4 separate regions of the Homo sapiens genome follow, and all the other regions are linked to region 3. Evidence: promoter capture Hi-C in 16 types of primary human blood cells and fetal thymus (Javierre and others, 2016). All regions are on one chromosome and are shown on one strand. The core of a region is centred on a gene start or on the middle of the fragment in contact, and the rest is flanking DNA. Distances in the headings are between cores, read along the strand shown.

What was found. The method cuts DNA at HindIII sites, captures the fragments that hold promoters and counts their contacts. A CHiCAGO score of 5 or more calls a contact.
Region 1: a contact is called between a fragment that was not itself captured here and the fragment with the promoter of SH3D21 in region 3, in 2 of 17 cell types (erythroblasts and endothelial precursors). The highest score is 6.0, in erythroblasts.
Region 2: a fragment that was not itself captured here is called in contact with the fragment with the promoter of SH3D21 in region 3 in 3 of 17 cell types (endothelial precursors, activated CD4 T cells and non-activated CD4 T cells); the score reaches 7.1 in endothelial precursors.
Region 4: a fragment that was not itself captured here is called in contact with the fragment with the promoter of SH3D21 in region 3 in 9 of 17 cell types (M1 macrophages, M2 macrophages, erythroblasts and 6 more); the score reaches 7.3 in M1 macrophages.

The regions. Positions count from the first base shown.
Region 1 is chr1:36,113,240-36,117,723 of GRCh38, forward strand. COL8A2 (collagen type VIII alpha 2 chain) reads right to left here. Exons shown (of 4, transcript NM_005202.4): 2 at 2,469-2,513. Among named protein-coding and RNA genes, the nearest start is that of COL8A2, 9.7 kb to the right of the region's middle. RefSeq lists enhancers at 750-1,690, 1,691-2,631. The HindIII fragment of the contact is 654 bases long and covers 2,560-3,213 here.
Region 2 is chr1:36,092,395-36,096,893 of GRCh38, forward strand. It overlaps ADPRS (ADP-ribosylserine hydrolase), which reads left to right. Exons shown (of 6, transcript NM_017825.3): 5 at 28-128; 6 at 703-1,538. The coding sequence ends at 992. It overlaps COL8A2 (collagen type VIII alpha 2 chain), which reads right to left. Exons shown (of 4, transcript NM_005202.4): 4 at 2,845-4,499. Among named protein-coding and RNA genes, the nearest start is that of ADPRS, 5.8 kb to the left of the region's middle. The HindIII fragment of the contact is 2,490 bases long and covers 508-2,997 here.
Region 3 is chr1:36,304,950-36,309,369 of GRCh38, forward strand. It overlaps SH3D21 (SH3 domain containing 21), which reads left to right and starts at 1,419. Exons shown (of 16, transcript NM_001162530.2): 1 at 1,419-1,475; 2 at 1,649-1,806; 3 at 1,893-1,956; 4 at 2,218-2,336; 5 at 2,568-2,658; 6 at 2,821-2,876; 7 at 2,969-3,014; 8 at 3,160-3,260; 9 at 3,440-3,526. The coding sequence starts at 1,472. THRAP3 (thyroid hormone receptor associated protein 3) reads left to right here. Exons shown (of 12, transcript NM_005119.4): 12 at 1-408. RefSeq lists silencers at 1,460-1,509, 1,730-2,169 and enhancers at 1,667-2,467, 2,270-2,319. The HindIII fragment of the contact is 29,085 bases long and covers 1,101-4,420 here.
Region 4 is chr1:36,440,913-36,445,556 of GRCh38, forward strand. All of the region lies in intron 1 of OSCP1 (organic solute carrier partner 1), which reads right to left. It overlaps LOC107984940 (a long non-coding RNA gene), which reads left to right. Exons shown (of 3, transcript XR_001737976.2): 2 at 3,689-3,821. Among named protein-coding and RNA genes, the nearest start is that of OSCP1, 7.2 kb to the right of the region's middle. The HindIII fragment of the contact is 1,167 bases long and covers 1,405-2,571 here.

The DNA.
Region 1 (4,484 bases), core at 1,637-4,136, 190 kb before region 3:
TGCCTCCTGTGTGTCTCTGACATCTCTGTCTCTGTGCGTCTCTCTCATCCTGTCTCTGTATCACTATCCCACCTATCCACCCATCTCTGACACTGTTTGTCCTTCTCTGTCCTCTCCCATGTCCTGTGCCTAGGTCACTTTCTGGGTTCCAGGCTCTGTAAATCTCTAGCTGTTGGTCATTGGGTGGGACCCTTGGGAAGGCCAGCACTGACAGTCCACACCTGCTCCTGTTAACGTCAGGTCTGGGTCTGACTTCCCTGGACAATGCCTGAGCAGCTCCGCGAGGTCTGGGAAGGGACTTGGCGGGGGGTCCAGTGCCCACGAGCTGAGCTCTCTATCTACTGTGCAGATAAGGACTGCCCCAAAGCCAAAGAGGAGCTCAGAATCTGGGAGCTGGAGGGTGGAGGGAGGTGGCCAGATCAGGGCAGGACTGCCTGGGGGCCACCTTCTCACCCAGGTTGAAGGCAGGAGAGGAGGGCTGCCACCTGCCCACCTGGTCTGCCCTACCAGACTTCAGTTCCACCTAACAGTCCCAACATCCCTCACCCCTGCAAGTGAGGCTCCCAGACCACAAGTGGCCTCAGTTTCAGAAGTAGCATCGGAAGGAGGCTTGAAGGAGAGATCAGAGTTCAACAGGCCCACGGGGGCAGGTGATGGTGGGACGGTCCAAGCTGAAATCAGAGCAAATGACTGGATGAGGAAGGCTTCCAGGGTAGGGGGGCAACCAAGGAGCAGTGAACCTGGGGCTCTGGAACTCGGGAGAGAGACATGGGCTAGAGGTAAAAATACAGGTTCGTGGCTGGGCGCGGTGGCTCATGCCTGTAATCCCAGCACTTTGGGAGGCTGAGGCAGGCAGATCATGAGGTCAGGAGATCAAGACTATCCTGGCTAACATGGTGAAACCCCATCTCTACTAAAAATACAAAAAAATTAGCTGGGCGTGGTAGAGGGCGCCTATAGTCCCAGCTACTCGGGAGGCTGAGGAAGGAGAATGGCGGGAACCTGGGAGGCGGAGCTTGCAGTGAGCCAAGATCGCACCACTGCACTCTAACCTGGGCGACAGAGCGAGACTCCATCTCAAAAAAAAAAAAAAAAAATACAGGTTCGTTGGCGGGGTTGCTGCAGCCTGGAGGAGGCCCACGGATTCCCCCTTGGGGAACACGCCTACATTTAGGGAGTGAGTGGAGCCCACCACAGCCCTGGGCTCCTCCCCCAACACACTAGGATCCAGACAACCCAGACGTCTCACTGCCTCCCTGTCCCTGCCTTTTCCTGCATGATCCTCTCTGCTGGGTTGCCCTTTCTACCTTTCTCCTCCATGGAAACATATTAGTTCTCATTTAAGACCCAGCTCAAAAGCCTCCTCCTCCAAGCAGCCTTCCCTGCCTCCCTCAGGCAGAACAGCTCCTTCTGGGCACCCACCTGCATGAAAGCACCTCTTCCCCACCCACACCTCCCTCCTGCCTGAGGCGGGCACAGGGCATGTGCTCGATGAAGCCTGTAGCCTGGGGGCTCCAGGTCCAGGCCTCTGAAAAACCCACCTCCCTTGTCCAGCCAAGCCCTCAGGTGGCTTATCACAGGGCCACTTTCTCTTTGTTGCTCTTCCTGAGTCCTTCTTGGTTCTGGGCTGGAGGGGGCTTGGACCGAACTCCCTCCTGCAGGTGACCAAGCCCCTGGCCTCTGCCCATCTCTGAGTCTAGGTTCTCCGCTGCTTCCCTAGGGAGGAGCATCTCAGAATAACAAAGTGCCCAGGAAGGTAAGAACAGCCGGGCAGGGGCAGATGGACTAGAAAAGGCCCGGCAGTGGGCAGACCTGAGGGCAGCCATGTACCCTCAGGCAGGTAGCCAGGCAGCTGGCCCTTCCCCACCCAGGGGCTCCGGCCTCAGCTGGGGCCGTCGCTTGCCTCCCAGCAGAGGCCTTGAGCTTCTGATGGGAACTGGACATCCGAGGGCCCCTACAGACCCAGCCACCCCCAGGCCTCAGGCAGGGGCAGGCGGGGCCTCCTCAGCCTCCAATCCCTCACCTTCTGGTTCGCATTTGCAGCCTTTTCCGGAGCGCCACCCGCCACCCGCTGCCTCCCCACGCCTGCCAAGATTCCTGGGCCTCTGCGGCTACCCTGCGTGGTGGCGGCAGCAGCGGCAGCAGGAGGGGCTGGGCTGGGCAGGGAGGGGGCCTGGCGGGAGCACAGCCAGGCCACTGCACCCAGGCTGGGCCAAGCAAACACGGCCCCGCCAAGGAGCCAGGCGAAATAGTTCACAAATGAGAAAAAGCTGCTTCCGAGTTGGGCCAGGGTTTTAAAGCCCGGGCTGCAGGGAGCTGAGGTCACATACAAAAGGGGTGGCTCACAGGACTCTCTGGGCCTGGGAGGGGCTTCCGGTGCAGCAGGAGGGAGTGAGGTTAGACAGCAATGAACACAGGCCTCATCTGGCCTGAGATATCAGAAAACCCCATCCCCAAACCTAGCTTACCTTTCAGGTCGGAGGGGCCTGGGAAGGTTCCAGCAGAGGCAGGGCCTGAGGATGAACAAGAGAAACAGTGAGGCTATGGGGCAGTGGCTCAAGCTTGTAATCCCAGCACTTTGGGAGGCTAAGGTGGGAAGACTGCTTGAGCCCAGGAGTTTGAGACCAGCCTGGGCAACATAGGGAGACATTGTCTGTACTAAAAATTTTAAAAAATTAGCTGGGCATGATGGTGCACGCCTATAGTCCCAGCTACTTAGGAGGCTGAGGTGGGTGGTATTGCTTGAGCCCAGGAGTTCAAGACTGCAGTAAGCTATGATTGCACCACTGCACTCCTGAGACAGGGCAAGACTCTGTCTCAAAAAAAAAAAAAAGGAGGAACAGTGAGACGATGACATCAGGAGCCTGGGAAGCCTCCTGCCCTAACCCACAGCCACACCAGTGCCTGCCCCGGGCTTCTTACCAGAACCCCCTGCTGGAAACCCGGCCCCAGTCTCAGTCTCTCTTCTCAGTTCCCTCCTCCCCTGAGGGAAGCAGGGTATGTGCCCCATACTCCACAACTCCATTCATTCAGTGCACACTTAGCAATACCCACGGGGTGCCTGGCCCTGGATTCAAGGAGTTCCTACTGTCCTAGGGCCCAGGCTGAGGATGCCCCTTCTGTGTCCCGGGTTCCCATGCTGGAGAAGTCCCTCCCATATGTCAGCTCTGGTTTGGGGTGGCCCCTACTTTGGGTTAGGATCCCTGCTGGGGAAGCTTCTACTATGTGGAGGACCCAAGCCTGGGTCATGGACCACAGAAATGGTTCAACCCCATACCCTGCCCTGCCTTGCCCTGAAGGGCTGGGGGCATCAGACAAGCGGTCATCACACAATTGGCAAAGATCTCTGGGCTGTGGGAGCATGAAGCAGGGAATACTGCCGACTTAAGCTTCCCCTGAAGGCTTCATGGAGAAAGGGACACTGCAGCTGGGTCCTGAAGGATGAGTCGGAGTCTGAAAGGCAGATGAGGTGATAGAAGGAATTTCAGGTAGTAATATACAGGGAAGGTCCAGAAGTGCTGTGGGATGGGGAGGCTGGGGCAACATGGTGAGGAAATCTGAATGCCATGCTTGCATTTCTCTGGAGAGCAATGGGGAGCCATGGAGGGTTATTTAGTGGGGGAAGTGATGTGGTCAGAGCCCTGGATGGCTAGGTCCCCATTTCTGCCTCAATCAGGTGTGGTGCCAGGATCTAACAAAAGTCGTAGTCCAGGTCACATAGCTGTACGCAGAGGATCCAGAGCTAAAGTCCAGACCCAGACATGACTCCGGGGTAGATGGGGAGGGGATGCCCAGCCAGCCCACCTGGCAGGGAGGCCTGCAGGCCGCGTCACTCTCTCCCCCAGCTGCTTGCTTGCCTCTGCCTGCTCCCATGGAAACTCTGACATCCAGTCCTGTCTGTAGCTGCACAAGCAGCCAGATGCTGGAGCCAGCAGCAACTAGGCCTTCTCTCCAACTCAGCTGAGCCCTGCCTCCATCCTGCCACTCTGAACACTATGACCCCAGAGCTGGGTCATGGGGCCACAGCCTGGATGATGGAGCCCAGGTAGGAGGACCCTCCAGCTCAGCTTAGCCCCAGCTTCTCCGGCCCCAGCCCCGTCCCTGCACCATGAGACTCTGGGAGAAGAAATGACTTAAGCTGGCTCTGGGCTTTGAAGGATGAACATGGATTTAACTGGTTGGTAGTGGAGAGAGGTGATCAGTCCTGGGCCAAGGCAACAGCATGTGTGAGAGTGTAAAAGCCCTGAATATATTCAGGGGATGGAGAGAATCCAAATAAAATAGACAAACACATGAACTAACTAATCATAGCTAATATTCATTGTGTACCCACTGTGTGCCAGGTACCGTTCTGGGTGTTCTCATGAATTATCTCATTTAATCCTCACAACAACCCAGTGACAAAAGTATTTCATCTTCCCTTTTTACAGATGAGAAAACTAAGGGACAGAGAGGATAAGTAACTGGCCCAACATCACACAGCT
Region 2 (4,499 bases), core at 503-3,002, 210 kb before region 3:
CTCCCTGAAATCTCCCCTAAACCACAGGTTGGGCATGGAGGAGCGTCCATACTCCAGCCGCCTGAAGAAGATTGGAGAGCTTCTAGACCAGGCATCGGTGACCAGGGAGGAAGTGGTGTCTGAGCTAGGTGAGTGGGTCTGCCTGGGATTGTCTCTCCCTCTGTCGTCCTTCAGGGTCGGTCTTGGGCTCAGGGGAGCATGGAGTCATGCCTGCCGTCGCATTGTACCCTGGGCTGCTGTGACACGGAGTCAATGGCAGGGTTGAGCTCAGCGCTTCTTGCTCTGAAGCTACAGCACCCTCAGCCTTGTGGACCAGTGTCCCCAGAAATGGCAGCTGGCCACTAGTCGTAAAAATGTTGATAATGGATTTTATTTGTCTAGCATCTATACTGGGCGTTGTGCAGAATGCTTCACAGACACGATCTCGCTTCATCCTCACAACAGCCCTGTCAGAGAGTTGCTAACGTTACTCCCTGTCTGCTTAAGGAGTTGAATCTGGGAGCAGGAAGCTTAGCGGTCCCCTAGGTAACTCTCCCAGTCACGCAGCCAGTGTGTGGTGGAGCCAGGATTTGAGCCCAGGTGGTCTAACTGTAGAGCCTGAGATCTTAGTCACAGCCTGCTTGAAGCCGAGAGTGCTGACTTGTGTCAAATGGTAGGAGGCCTGGGGAAGCATGCAGCCCCTCTAACCTGGCTTCCCCACAGGGAATGGCATTGCTGCCTTTGAGTCGGTACCCACCGCCATCTACTGCTTCCTACGCTGCATGGAGCCAGACCCTGAGATCCCTTCTGCCTTCAATAGCCTCCAAAGGACTCTCATTTATTCCATCTCACTTGGTGGGGACACAGACACCATTGCCACCATGGCTGGGGCCATTGCTGGTGCCTACTATGGGATGGATCAGGTGCCAGAGAGCTGGCAGCAAAGCTGTGAAGGCTACGAGGAGACAGACATCCTGGCCCAAAGCCTGCACCGTGTCTTCCAGAAGAGTTGATGAGGGCTACAGCTGTTGGGGCTCTGCCAGGTCCCCTGGGACCAACTACAGCTCCAATCAGAAACCCTGCGCTTCCTTGAGTGTGGCTTCCCACTTTTCCTGCATTGTGGAGCTGACTGAGTACACCGGTGAGGCTGGGGTCTCTGCAGGGGAGGTCACTGGAACAGCGAGCAAGGGACTGGTGCCTCGCTGGTGCTGGGTCTCTGGTTTGCTGCAGAGCCGTAGGACACTCCTGGCTCCTCAGTAGGACAGACAGACGCAGGCGGGTTTATTTTGGAGGGGTACTTGTGGCATTTTCCTGTATTGTCTTGGACATGGGATGTGGGGAGGTGGAAATGATGAGCAGTAGCATCATTTCTCCCTGTTGGGTTTTAGCCAGTTTGCCAGCAAGCGCATCCTAGCAGGGTCCCCGAGCAGCAGGTTGTGTGGATGAAGGGACAGGCACTTGCATCCAGCTGATCTAGGTCACACCTGGCTCTTGGCTGCCATGTGGCTTATTAACAGCTTCCAGTGGAAGTCGCAATAAACAGTTTTTGGTAAATCTCACCACTGTTTCTTGTTTCTCCTGCCCTGAATGGATTCTCCCCTGCCAGCCTGATCTCTGAAGACTAGTGCCTTTGTCTGTGCTGCACTGTCATAGAAGCTGGGGCCCCAAGGCCATGAGCTGCTGTGTTGCCAGGCACTCCAGCTGGCTGCGTGTTCAGCCAGGAAGGGCACAGCAGGCATGGTCTGGTGGCTTTTCCTGTTAGAGATCACTCAAAGTGGCCCAGGCTGCTGGGCCGAGTGCTTTGCCAGAGGCAGCGGGTAGGAACAAGCCAGATTTTTCTGTTCTCAGAGCCTGACTTCCCCAAACAGGAGCTAGGCCCAGCTGGGCCAGGAACAGGAACCCTGTAGAAGGATCCAGAGGGCCCTGCTATCATCAGACTACCAACCTTTGGGTGGGGAGGGCACCATCACGGGGCCCCGGGTGGACTGAGTGCCGTGTGCCTCCTCCTGTATCTTGGGACCAATCAAAAGCCTTTCCCTGCAAGGAAGTTTTACACAGCATGTTTTTAGAGATGGGGTCTCACTCTATTGCACAGGCGATCCTCCCACATGGGTTCCCAAGTATCTGAGACTAGCATCCATTCTGAAGAAGGGAAAATTGAAAGGGGGAAGATGCCTCCCCTCAAACTCCAGGGACATTCTCTGAGCATCCAGCCTCAGTGGCTAGCCGAGCATGTGCAGTCTGCAGCTGCCCTGCGGTTTCAGCACTCTCGGGCAGATCTGTTTTAGTGAAGATAGGGTTCTGGCTAGGCTGAGGACTCTTCAAAACACAGATTGCTTCAGGTCTGCCACCCAGACCCCCAGCGCCAGGGACAGATCTTTCGTGGCTGAGCATGGCAGGCTGTGAGCAGGTGCTTTCCGCCCAGGACAGCTCCCCCAGCCTGTCTTCAGCACTGGGCCTGACACTAGCCCAGCCCTTAGGAGCAAAGATTCATGATTTCATTCATAATTTGTATCAGATGTTGAAACTTGGCCCTCGGACTACTGAGCCAGCTGTCATGCTCCACTAGCCCTGAGAGCTTGCAGGAATATTCCAGTAAAGATTGAGCCATCGCCCCCAGCTCCAGCCACTACCTGCCTTTGGTTTCTTAAAATGCCTCCTGGCATTTGCCTGGCGCATGGCCTCAGCAGCTTACGAGCATCAGGCATTTGTGATGTGGTGGTGACAGAAATCCAGGTTAGGGAGCTGGTGAGGAGTGCATGATCCTTAAGAGCAGGCACACAAGCCCCAGAGAGCTTCCTGGACACCTTACAGAACCCAGAGGCTTGAGATACCTCTGTGTCAGTATCAGTTTCAGCACAGTGCTGTTTTATACAACAGGTTTTATTGAGGATGTGTCAATACAGTTAACATGGTTGCTTGTCTTTTCAAAAAGAAGTTCCATTTTCTTTGATTCCCAAGTGCATTTTTCCTGAATCTTCTGTGATACAGGGCACATGATAGGTATGTAGAGAGCTAAGCTTCCTATACCAAGTTAGAAGTGAAATGACTAGTGGAAAACATTTAAACTTTAATCTTAAAAAAAAAATAGGAATCAATATAAAAATGCACAAGGTAATGTCGTTTTCATAGTTAAAATCTGACATTGTTTATCAAAGCTAGTCAGTTAAGTGGACACCTGCAACTCAAATCCCATAAACATTTTAGAAACGCCAACCACCCCTCCTGAAAGGTTTGAGGAATGAAATTTGGCAGAAGCTCAGCTCTGTGAAATAGCTCCCGTTTTTTTTCTTGGGACCCTACTTAGTTCCGTGGGCTCCCATTGGGAGCTGATTAATTTCTGCCAATCAGAACCCATCCCTAACACATCAGATGATAGTGGCTTTGACCTAGGGAAGAAGAGGTTGAGCGAAGAACCCCCACCAGGTATGGTTTGAGAGTCCTTAGTTGGTTTTCTTGGGCGTTAGGTAGTAAGAAATCCACCAGGAACCCCAGCCAAAACCTTCTCAAGTGTCACTTGGGCAGATTTGGGTTATCATTCCTCCTTTTGAAGAAGTGAGCAAACAGCCTGCTTTGTTTGGAGAAGTTGTGGGCAGGGGAGGAGGGTTGGCAAGGAACCTGAAGGAACCCACTGCTCAGCCAGTCAGAAGTCAGCAGCCATCCTCCATTTTCAACATGGACCGCCTGGACACAGCCAGACTTGGAGCAGTGCAACGAGATCACAGACCGAATGACCCCAGTTCACACTTGGTACAAGGAGTGGGGCTGGCCTGGCGAGGGCCGAGCGCGAGGCCCTGCAGCTGCGGGGAAAGTGGCCATCTTTGCACGAGCAGGAATGTCCACCACTCCCAGCACTCATCTCAGCCTTATCCACTCCGCTTGACGTAGGGACTGAGGGGTTGGGAGGGGCATCCTGCCTGTTTCCTGCAGAGGAGCTCTGATCGGGGAACAGGGCAGAAACGTCCAGAGCCAACTCATTCCCAAGGGACCTGTTGGCACCCTTTCTCTCCCAGCCTTAGCCTCCTGGGCCCTAGTCCTGCTTAGAACAGGAAATTGGAACCAGAGGGTGGAAGGAGAGGAAGCCCCCACAGATGAACCCCTCTTGTACACACATACACCCACCATATGGTTCTTATTAAGGAAAAGGAAGTGGGAGCCGTCTTCATCCCCCAGCTCGCGTGCACCTTGTTCAGAGGGCCAAACGAGAGGTGCTCTGCCTTGGGGATACCTGGCTGGGGTGACAAGGATCCTCTTACAATTTTGTATTGAGAAAACCAGCCCAGCCCGCAGCAGGTGGAAGGGGAGAAAGGGAAGAGTGCTCATGTTTGCTGATGGTCGATTCTGCCTCCGCCACCATCTGCACTAGATACTTCTAGACACTTCACAGAGGTTGATCTTTCTGGCCTGTAGGTGTCCCAGGGGCCTCTGTGCTGCCCTCAAGCTAAACAGCCAGAGCTGGCGGGGGCAGCCCGGGAGAGACAGGGATGAACGTGAAGAGCTGCCTCCTGCCCCAGGTCTGT
Region 3 (4,420 bases), core at 169-2,668:
GATCGATTAAGGAAGGTGGTTATGGCTGGGTGGTTCAGGGGTTTTTTTGGGTTTCTTTTTTTTTTTCTTTGTCTTTTTAACCTTAAGCTGTTTAAGTTGAAGCATTCTCAGATGTTTGGGGGGAAACATCCTCTTAAAATGGGTCCTTGTGCTTGCCTTCTGGGGAGGCGGTCCTGAGCAGGTGAATCATAAGGCATTTATGCATATGTTATATGCGGACTGCACCCACCTCTCCCCCCCAGCCTTTGCCTCTTGCGTTGTTGTGCTGCTTTCCCCTTACTTTGCTACATTTCTATAGTTAAGTTGGTTTTACTTGAATGATTCATGTTTAGGGGGAAAATGAAAATCTCCCTTAAAATTTGTTTCAACTCCTCCTGCAAATAAAATAAATGAAGTGGCAGATGTAAACGGGTTCTGTTCATTGTCATCCTGAGTGTGTGTGTGTGTTGAGGGTGGTAGATAACTTCCCACGGCAGTTTCAGAAAACCTGAAAGACAAAGGGCCTGTGGGGCCTTGCGCAGGCTGCTGGAGTCCCAGACAGACACAGTCCTTCCTGGGAGGAGCATTGTGTACCTTGGACACCCCAGGAGAAACAGATTTTTTCCACTGGTGTCATAGGCAAGGACTTTGGCTTCCTTCATCATGGTGGTGGGGCAGGGATCAAGGGATGTGGTTAGTAGGCTCAGCCTTCTACCTGAAAGAGCCTATCCCACATGGACTGGCCATAGGGTGGGCCCTAACCTTCAGACTCCTGCCGGCTGGGGACTCAACTGTGAGCAGAAATCTTGGAAGCTGGTAAAATTCATTCTCCCGGCCTAACTCCCAGGGAAAACCTGGAGGTGTTTTCTGAAACCAAACTAGACCTCTGGCCCCAAAGCAGGGGTCTTTGCTGTGTCCTTCCTATATGGGGGTAGAGAGTGGGTACGGGGCCAGAGAGGAGTACGCCTTGAAGGAAAGCAGACTGGAAGTGTCCACTCAAAGCTATTGCTGGTACAAGGGCAGCCACTTCATTCACTCAAGGCCGGTTTAGAGCGGTTGCTACTTGCTGGGGGGCCCCACCCTGGTATGTGCCTCTCCCCACCTTTTCCCCTCAAGCCAAAAGCTTGTGAGCTGGGGAAGGGTGGGCCTGGAAAGGCTCTGTGCAAATTGTAGCTGGGAGCCTCCGGGCAAAAGCTGAGGGAAAGGGAGAGGCGGCTGGCCTAAAATTTAGGTGGGCGGAAGAACCTGTGACGGAGCTGTGACCGCTGCACAGGCCAGAGACCCTGGAGTCCTCCTCACCCCGGGGTTGGGGGCCGGACCTGCTGAGCCGGGCCGCCCCCTCTCCACACCCACTCCCAGCACCTGGCCCGACCTATCGGCTGGCGGCTACGCCTCCTTTACCCTACTGTCTTGCCTCAGGTCGCACCCTGCGCGGGCCCAGTACTCGGCCGTCAGAGGGAGCTGCCAGGCTCTGGAGGGCGCCCCGGAAACCATGGGTAAGTGCGGAGGCTTTGAGGTGGCCTCTCTCTGCAACCGTGGACATAGCAAGAGCCCACACCACCCCCCGACCCCCGCTGCCCTCTACGGTGCTTGGGGACACGCCCGCCCTAGCCAGGCTGCCCGGCTGGGCCTTTCTGAGCCGCACGCCGGCCCCGTCTTCCGCCCGCAGAAGTCCTCGTCCTGGCCGGATACCGCGCGCAGAAGGAGGACGAGCTGAGTCTGGCGCCCGGGGACGTGGTCCGGCAGGTGCGCTGGGTGCCCGCGCGGGGCTGGCTTCGCGGAGAGTTTGGGGGCCGCTATGGCCTCTTCCCCGAGCGCCTGGTGCAGGTGAGGCCGAGCCAGGGGCGGGCTGTGGGGTCTCAGCGCGCGCCCCCCGGGAGCTGAGAGCGCCTTCCCCGTGCCCTGATTCCCAGGAGATCCCAGAGACCCTGCGGGGCTCCGGAGAGGCGCGGAGGCCGCGCTGTGCGCGCCGCCGAGGTGAGCGCAAGGGCGGGGACGGGCGCCGGTGGGCGGGTGCACGGAGCCAGTGCGACCCCGGCGTCTCCGGCTCTTAGTGACGGGCGCGGCTCTGGGCGGGACCTCGGGGCCGCCCTGCGGTCTGTGATTGGTTCTCGAGTGCAATGCTCCGCCCTGGGGCGGGGCTGGAGGGACCAAAGGCTACGTGCGCGCCTTGCGCTTCCCCCAGCTCCTCTGACTGGGGCGTCCGACTGGAGCTCAGCCGCGCTTGTCCGGTGCTAGGTCATCCTGCCAAACACCCGAGGCCCCAAAGATGGTGCAAAGTGAACTTCAGCTACAGCCCAGAGCAGGCGGACGAGCTGAAGCTGCAAGCTGGGGAGATCGTGGAAATGATAAAGGAGGTGAGGGGTGAGGTGATGGGACCGTTTGGGGGAGGATGATGGAACGCGCCTCCCTAGTGAGCGGGGTGGGAAGTGAGGGTGTGGACGGTGGGAATGGCGACGGTGCAGATACGGGGAAGCGCGGGAGGGAAGGAGGGAGGAAGGGGCGCTTGGGCAGAACCAAGGGTGGCAGATTATCCTAGGGACTCTTGGGGCAGAACCAGACGCCTCTGCGTCCTCCCCTCTCCCCAGATTGAGGACGGCTGGTGGCTGGGGAAGAAGAACGGGCAGCTGGGAGCCTTCCCATCCAACTTTGTGGAATTGCTGGACAGTGGGCCCCCAAGTGAGACCTCGACTCTGTGACCCTGTGACTCGCAATCTCCAATGACCCTCCCAGTGGCATGAGCCTGTGATTCACATATCCTGACCCTGTGACCCCTCTGACCCTCTCCCATGACCTAACCTGTGAATTAGCACCCTCCCTAACCTCACTGTCCCCCACTAGGCCTTGGTAACCCAGACATGCCTTCAGTCAGCCCTGGTCCCCAGCGGCCTCCCAAGGTAAGTTGGCTCAGAGTAGGCACAGAGGTGGTGAGTTCCTCTTGGGGTGGTTGGAGGCTCATCTAGTTCCTCCCTGCCCCTTCCCCCACTAGCTGAGCAGCCTGGCCTATGACAGCCCTCCAGACTACCTGCAGACAGGTGAGCACCCATCCAAAGGGTCCCCCACTCCCTCAGCCACTCCCAAGGTTGTGACTTGGTGGGCCAGCTAGGCTGATGGAGGTGGGGGCTGCTGATGGATGGGGGAGGCTTGGCTTCAGAGGACAGTGGACTGACCTCTTCCCAGTCTCCCACCCTGAGGTCTACAGGGTCCTGTTTGACTACCAGCCTGAGGCCCCAGACGAGTTGGCGCTGCGGAGGGGGGACGTGGTAAAAGTACTCAGCAAGGTGTGAGACGAACAGGGTGGGGGGGCCCAGGGAAGCCGGTGTTGAGAAAGGGTAGACCTGCACATGTACCCCCTGAATCTAAAATAAACGTTGAAATTATATCCATAAGAAGGAGTGGGACCCCGGAAAGGACCTTGGGGGACCTGGCTCACCTCCCCACTGGCGTGTTTCTTTTCCAGACCACAGAGGATAAGGGCTGGTGGGAAGGAGAGTGTCAAGGACGAAGAGGAGTTTTTCCAGACAACTTTGTACTCCCACCACCCCCAGTGAGTACAGAGCCAAGACACTCAGGTGGCAGGGGCAGGCTATTTTGGACAAAGGTGGGGATCATGGGCACTCTCCGGACCTAGCTGGAGGGTCACTAAATGAGGGTGGACCTAGACATGTGGGGGCTCCTTTTGGATTCTAATACCGGTTGAGTATCGCTTATCCAAAAGGCTTGGGACCAGAAGTGTTTCGGATTTGGGAATTTTTGCATATACATGAGATAGCTGCCGGGTACGGTGGCTCACGCCTGTAATCCCAGCACTTTTGGGAGGCCGAGGCGGGTGGATCACAAAGTCAGGAGTTCAAGACTAGCCTGGCCAACATGGTGAAACCCCATCTTTACTAAAAATACAAAAATTAGCTGGGCGTGGTGGCATGCATGTGTAATCCCAGCTACTCAGGAGGCGGAGGTTGCAGTGAGCCGAGATTGTGCCATTGCACTCCAGCCTAGGCAACAAGAGCAAGACTCTATCTCAAAAAGAAAAAAAAAAAAAGATAGCTTGGGAATGGGACCCCAACCTAAACACGAAATTCATTTATGTTTCATATACACCTTAAGCCATAGCCTGAAGGTGATTTTGTGCAGTAGTTTTAATAATTTTGTGCATGAAACAAATTTTGACTGAGACCTGTCACATGAGTTAGGTCAGGTGTGGAATTTTCCACTTAAGGCGTTATGTTGGTACTCAGAAAGTTTCAGATTTTGGAGCATTTTAGATTTTTTTTTTTTTTTTCTTGAAGACAGAGTCTCGCTCTATTGCACAGACTAGAGTGCAGCGGCAGGATCGCCACTCACTGCAACCTCCCCCTCTCAGGTTCAAGCGACTCTCCTGCCTCAGCCTCCAGAGTAGCTGGGATTACACGTGCATGCCACCACATCCAGCTAATTTTTG
Region 4 (4,644 bases), core at 738-3,237, 140 kb after region 3:
CTAGGTGCTGAGTCATTTCTCTGGGGTCTTTGAGCCCTTATTAGGAGCTAGGGAAATAGCTTACACCCAGATAAATCAGTTCTGGACGAAAGAATACCCCAAGGTGATTGTTAGCTACTCGGGCAAAGTGAAAAGCAAAATGAAGTCTTTCCCCGTGGGAAGTGAAGAAGCTCTGGAGCACCATGGCTCCTGGCGCCAGCATCCAGACAGTTCACCTGCTGGGAAGAGGACGGCGGGGTCTGTCCTTGTGGGCAGAGCAGTGAGTACAAATGCCCCCAAAGAGGAAATGGCAGTTTAATGGTTGGGCCACGACACCTAGGGCTCCCTCTTCTCGTTTCACTCTTTGGAAATAAGATGGAGGCACACGTTAACATGTTTTTGTCTTACAATTTGCTTCACCCAGCCCTTGGTTGAGGCAGACCTATTAGGTACCAGACAGTGAAATAAACACCACAGGCACAAAGAGGAAGGAGATGTTATCCTGGCCCTAGAGAAGCAGCACATCATCTTTAGGTTAAACCTGAGAAATAGTTTTTTTAAAAAATTTAATTAGCGTACGGGCGCGGTGGCTCACGCCTGTAATCCCAGCACTTTGGGAGGCCGAGGCGGGCGGATCACGAAGTCAGGAGATCGAGACCATCCTGGCTAACGCTGTGAAACCCCGTCTCCACTAAAAAAAAATACAAAAAATTAGCCGGGCGTGATGGCGGGCGCCTGCAGTCCCAGCTACCGGGAGGCTGAGGCAGGAGAATGGCGTGAACCCGGGAGGCGGAGCTTGCGGTGAACCGAGATCGCGCCACTGAACTCCAGCCTGGGTAACAGAGCGAGACTCCAGCTCAAAAAAAAAAAAAAAAAAAAAAGTAATTTGTTTTTTATTTTTTTCCCTTCATCCTAACATCCCTGAAGAAATAGTTTTAATCAGACCCGCCCATTAGTCTAAGTGTTGGTTTTTGGCATGCAAATGAGTTCTGCATACTTTTCACGAGGCCGGAATATACTAGGAGCCGGATTTCAATAGGAAGAGGCTAAGGGGGGCCGGGCGCAGTGGCTCACGCCTGTAATCCCAGCAGTTTGGGAGGCCGAGGTGGGTGGATCACCTGAGGTCGGGAGTTCAAGACCAGCCTGACCAACATGGAGAAACCCCATCTCTACTAAAAATACAAAATTAGCCAGGCGTGGTGGCTCATGCCTGTAATCTCAGCTACTCAGGAGGCTGAGGCAGGAGAATTGCTTGAACCTGGGAGCGGAGGTTGTAGTGAGCTGGGATCGCTCCATTGCACTCCAGCCTGGGCAACAAGAGCGAAACTCCGTCTCAAAAAAAAAAAAAAGGAGGCTAAGGCAGGGGAGGGAAGGGATTTTTCACAGGAGCCTCAGAAAGTTGGTAATTGGGTTCTCAACATAGCAAGCTTCTAGTCCTGGGTTCAGATTATGAAGCCAGTTTCTGTTCATTATTTTTGAACATTTATGTTAAAATAAATTTCAATGATTCAATTATGTATATGAAAAGCTCTCAAAATCCACACTTCATACCTGAAATTCTGCTATGCATCAAGGGAGGGACGGGTCAAAAATTGCTCAAGAAGTGTCAAACGATGGTTGTGAAATGTAATAAAGTGTACCAAGTACTTCAATTGGGCTTTTTTTCGAGACTGGTCTGATGAAATAATTATCTTGATGAAAGCAATCAAGTTTTTACCAATTACCTCTGCTCTAAATTGACTTGTTTATGGGAATATGAAATTTGGAGCCAAGAATTTAGAGAGAGGCTAGGAAACCCTCCTGAATAGTTACCATGTTTCAATCCTTTCTATGTCCCAGGCACTGGGCTTAGAACTTTATATGCATTATCTCATTTAAACTCCAAGACAACTCTGAATTATTATCCTCATTTTTTTTTCCTGCCAGACCACTTATCGTTTTATATTATCCTCATTCTATTAAGGAGGAAAACTGAATCAGAGAGTTTAAAGTCCAAGGTCACACAGCTGGTGATGGAGCTGAAATTAGAATTAGGTCTGTTTGATTTAATGCCTGTGCTTTTAAATATTATTATTATTATTATTATTTTTGAAGTGGAGTCTCGCTCTGTCGCCCAGGCTGGAGTGCAGTGGCAAGATCTCGGCTCACTGCAACCTCTGCCTCCCAGGTTCAAGTGATTCTCCTGCCTCAGTCTCCCAAGTAGCTGGGATTATAAGTGCCCACCACCATGCCCAGGTAATTTTTGTATTTTTAGTAGAGACAGGGTTTCACCATGTTGGCCAGGCTGGCCTCGAACTCCTGACCTCAAGTGATCCTCCTGCCTCAGATTCCCAAAGTGCTGGGATTACAGGTGTGAGCCACTGCACCTGGCCTCTTAAATATTATACAGGTTGTCTTCCCAGCATACTTGGTGTGGTGAGAGCATTTAAAATATTGAGGAGGATGGCTGATGATAGGCACACACCACACCCAAATGTCAAATGACAGAAGGTATCTGAGATTTATTTAAAGGCTGAGAAAGTCTAAGGCTTTATTCTGAGGAGTCGACAACTTTTTCAGGTTTCCTGCTTGCAGTAGGTAAGGGGAAACTGAAGCTTTTGCATGATGAGGCCACACTGCATGCATGATGTCATGCCTTCTGCCCACAGTCCTGGCAGCCATGCAGTTACATGCTTCAATTTTTCTCGGTTGCTCTGTGAGCTTAGGAGAATGGCTCAGGGAGGGTCACTCATGTTGAAGCACAATTCTTTGGTTACATGACAAAACAAAGTTGTTTTAAGGACTACCAAATAGGATGACATACCCCAAAGTATGGCTATTGCCCCAGCTGTCCCAGCAAAGCTTGGAACTGAGAAAAGGAGACATATCCCTCAAGTACAGTGTGGCTTTTTGGTCAGAGTTTGCTTAGTTTTCATCTTAACATGCTGTATTTCTTCCTCTTAAGTAAAAGATTCAAATGTATAACCAATATCTCAGCTAAAGACAAACTCATGCCTATTTTCTTACTTTGACTTTGAAATGTTTCAAGCGGTCCCATTTTAAGCCCTGCTGATAAAGGCCTGAGTGAACCTGTGGATGCACACTGAACACATGCAGCCCGGAGATAGCATACCTCGTTTTCTGTCCACCTCTGTCCATTCATCTACATGAAGCATACAAAAAGAAAACACCAGTTCATGAAGCAAGAACATTATTTTCAAGGAGGCTTTAAACATACCAATTCCAATGATCTTATCTATGAAACTTTACTTTTCACGTTGGCATTTAATGTCTAATGTGAGCACACTGCCTTCTATTTGAAACCTTTAAAAGGATGATGGATAAACAACATATTTCAAAAAAGCTCAAGAAAGGCTATGTCTTACAGAGACTGGCCTAAGAAGAGAGTAAACTGAGGAGGATTAGCTATCCTGTGGTTCATCTTGAAAGGCCCAAGAAGCCCCGCTCTCTAATGCTACAAGAATACATATCATTCAGTAGTAGGCTTTTAAAGACGCTAGCCTCCATGAGGAAGAATAATTCCAAGAACAGGCAGAGAAAAGAGTTTCTTTGTATACAATCTGAGTTTTCTTTTCTTTTCTTTTTTTTTTATTAATGTAAGATTTCCCTTTCTAGAGGACAGATGGAACTGCTCAAATTAGAAAACTTGAAATGTGAATTAAAAGGAAAATGTCAGCATTTGTTTCTGTTTTACTTTTTATATATATAGATGCATGATTTCCATGTAAAAAGAAGCGAATAATGATGGGACCACTATGAAGAAAGCTTCTGAGGACAAAGGCAGCTGGGGAGATCCCAAGAGGAGACCAAATAAGGAAAAATGCAGTTGGCTAGAGAAATCGGTGAGAATCAAGACTCTATGGGTTGAAACCTGGCTCTACTTACTGGCTATATAAACTTCAAGCAACTTGTTTAACCTCAGTTTCCTTCGTAAAATAGGGATCATAATAGCACCTATCTTACAGGCCTATTGTGGGGATAAAGCATAACACACATCAAATACTTAGCTGGCTTCCCTTTGAGTTCTGTTTCCTCTACTGAGGGACATTAGACACCACCCATAAAGGATGGAAGATGACTTTTTTCCTTTCCTTAATTTTTGATGGAGATTTCAATCTAGAAGAACCACCCCTAGATAAAAAAGTTCTATACACATCTGTATTTCAAAAACATTTTGGCGAGGCACAGTGGCTCATGCCTGTAATCCCAGAACTTTGGGAGGCCAAGATGGGCGGATCACCTGAGGTCAGGAGTTCGAGACCAGCCTGGCCAACATGGTGAAACCTCATCTCTACAAAAAATACAAAAATTAGCTGGGTGTGGTGGTGCACACCTATAGTCTCAGCTACTTGGGAGGCTGAAGCAGGAGGATTGCTTGAACCCAGGAGGTGAAGGTTGCAGTGAGTGGAGACTACGCCACTGGGCGACAGAGCAACACTCCATCTCAAAAAACAAAAACAAACAAACAAAAACCCCAAAACCATTTTGTAATTAATAGTTTCTTTTGGAAACATTTGCCACTAGATTGTGGTATTAGGGGTGATTTCTGAAGTTATAATCAAAGTATACACATGGCTTCAATACATAATACCAAAAGCTCCCAAGAGAGCAGTCTGAAAGCATGGCCAGTGCCATGTCCTAACCGGCTGCAAAGGGTTTCCATTG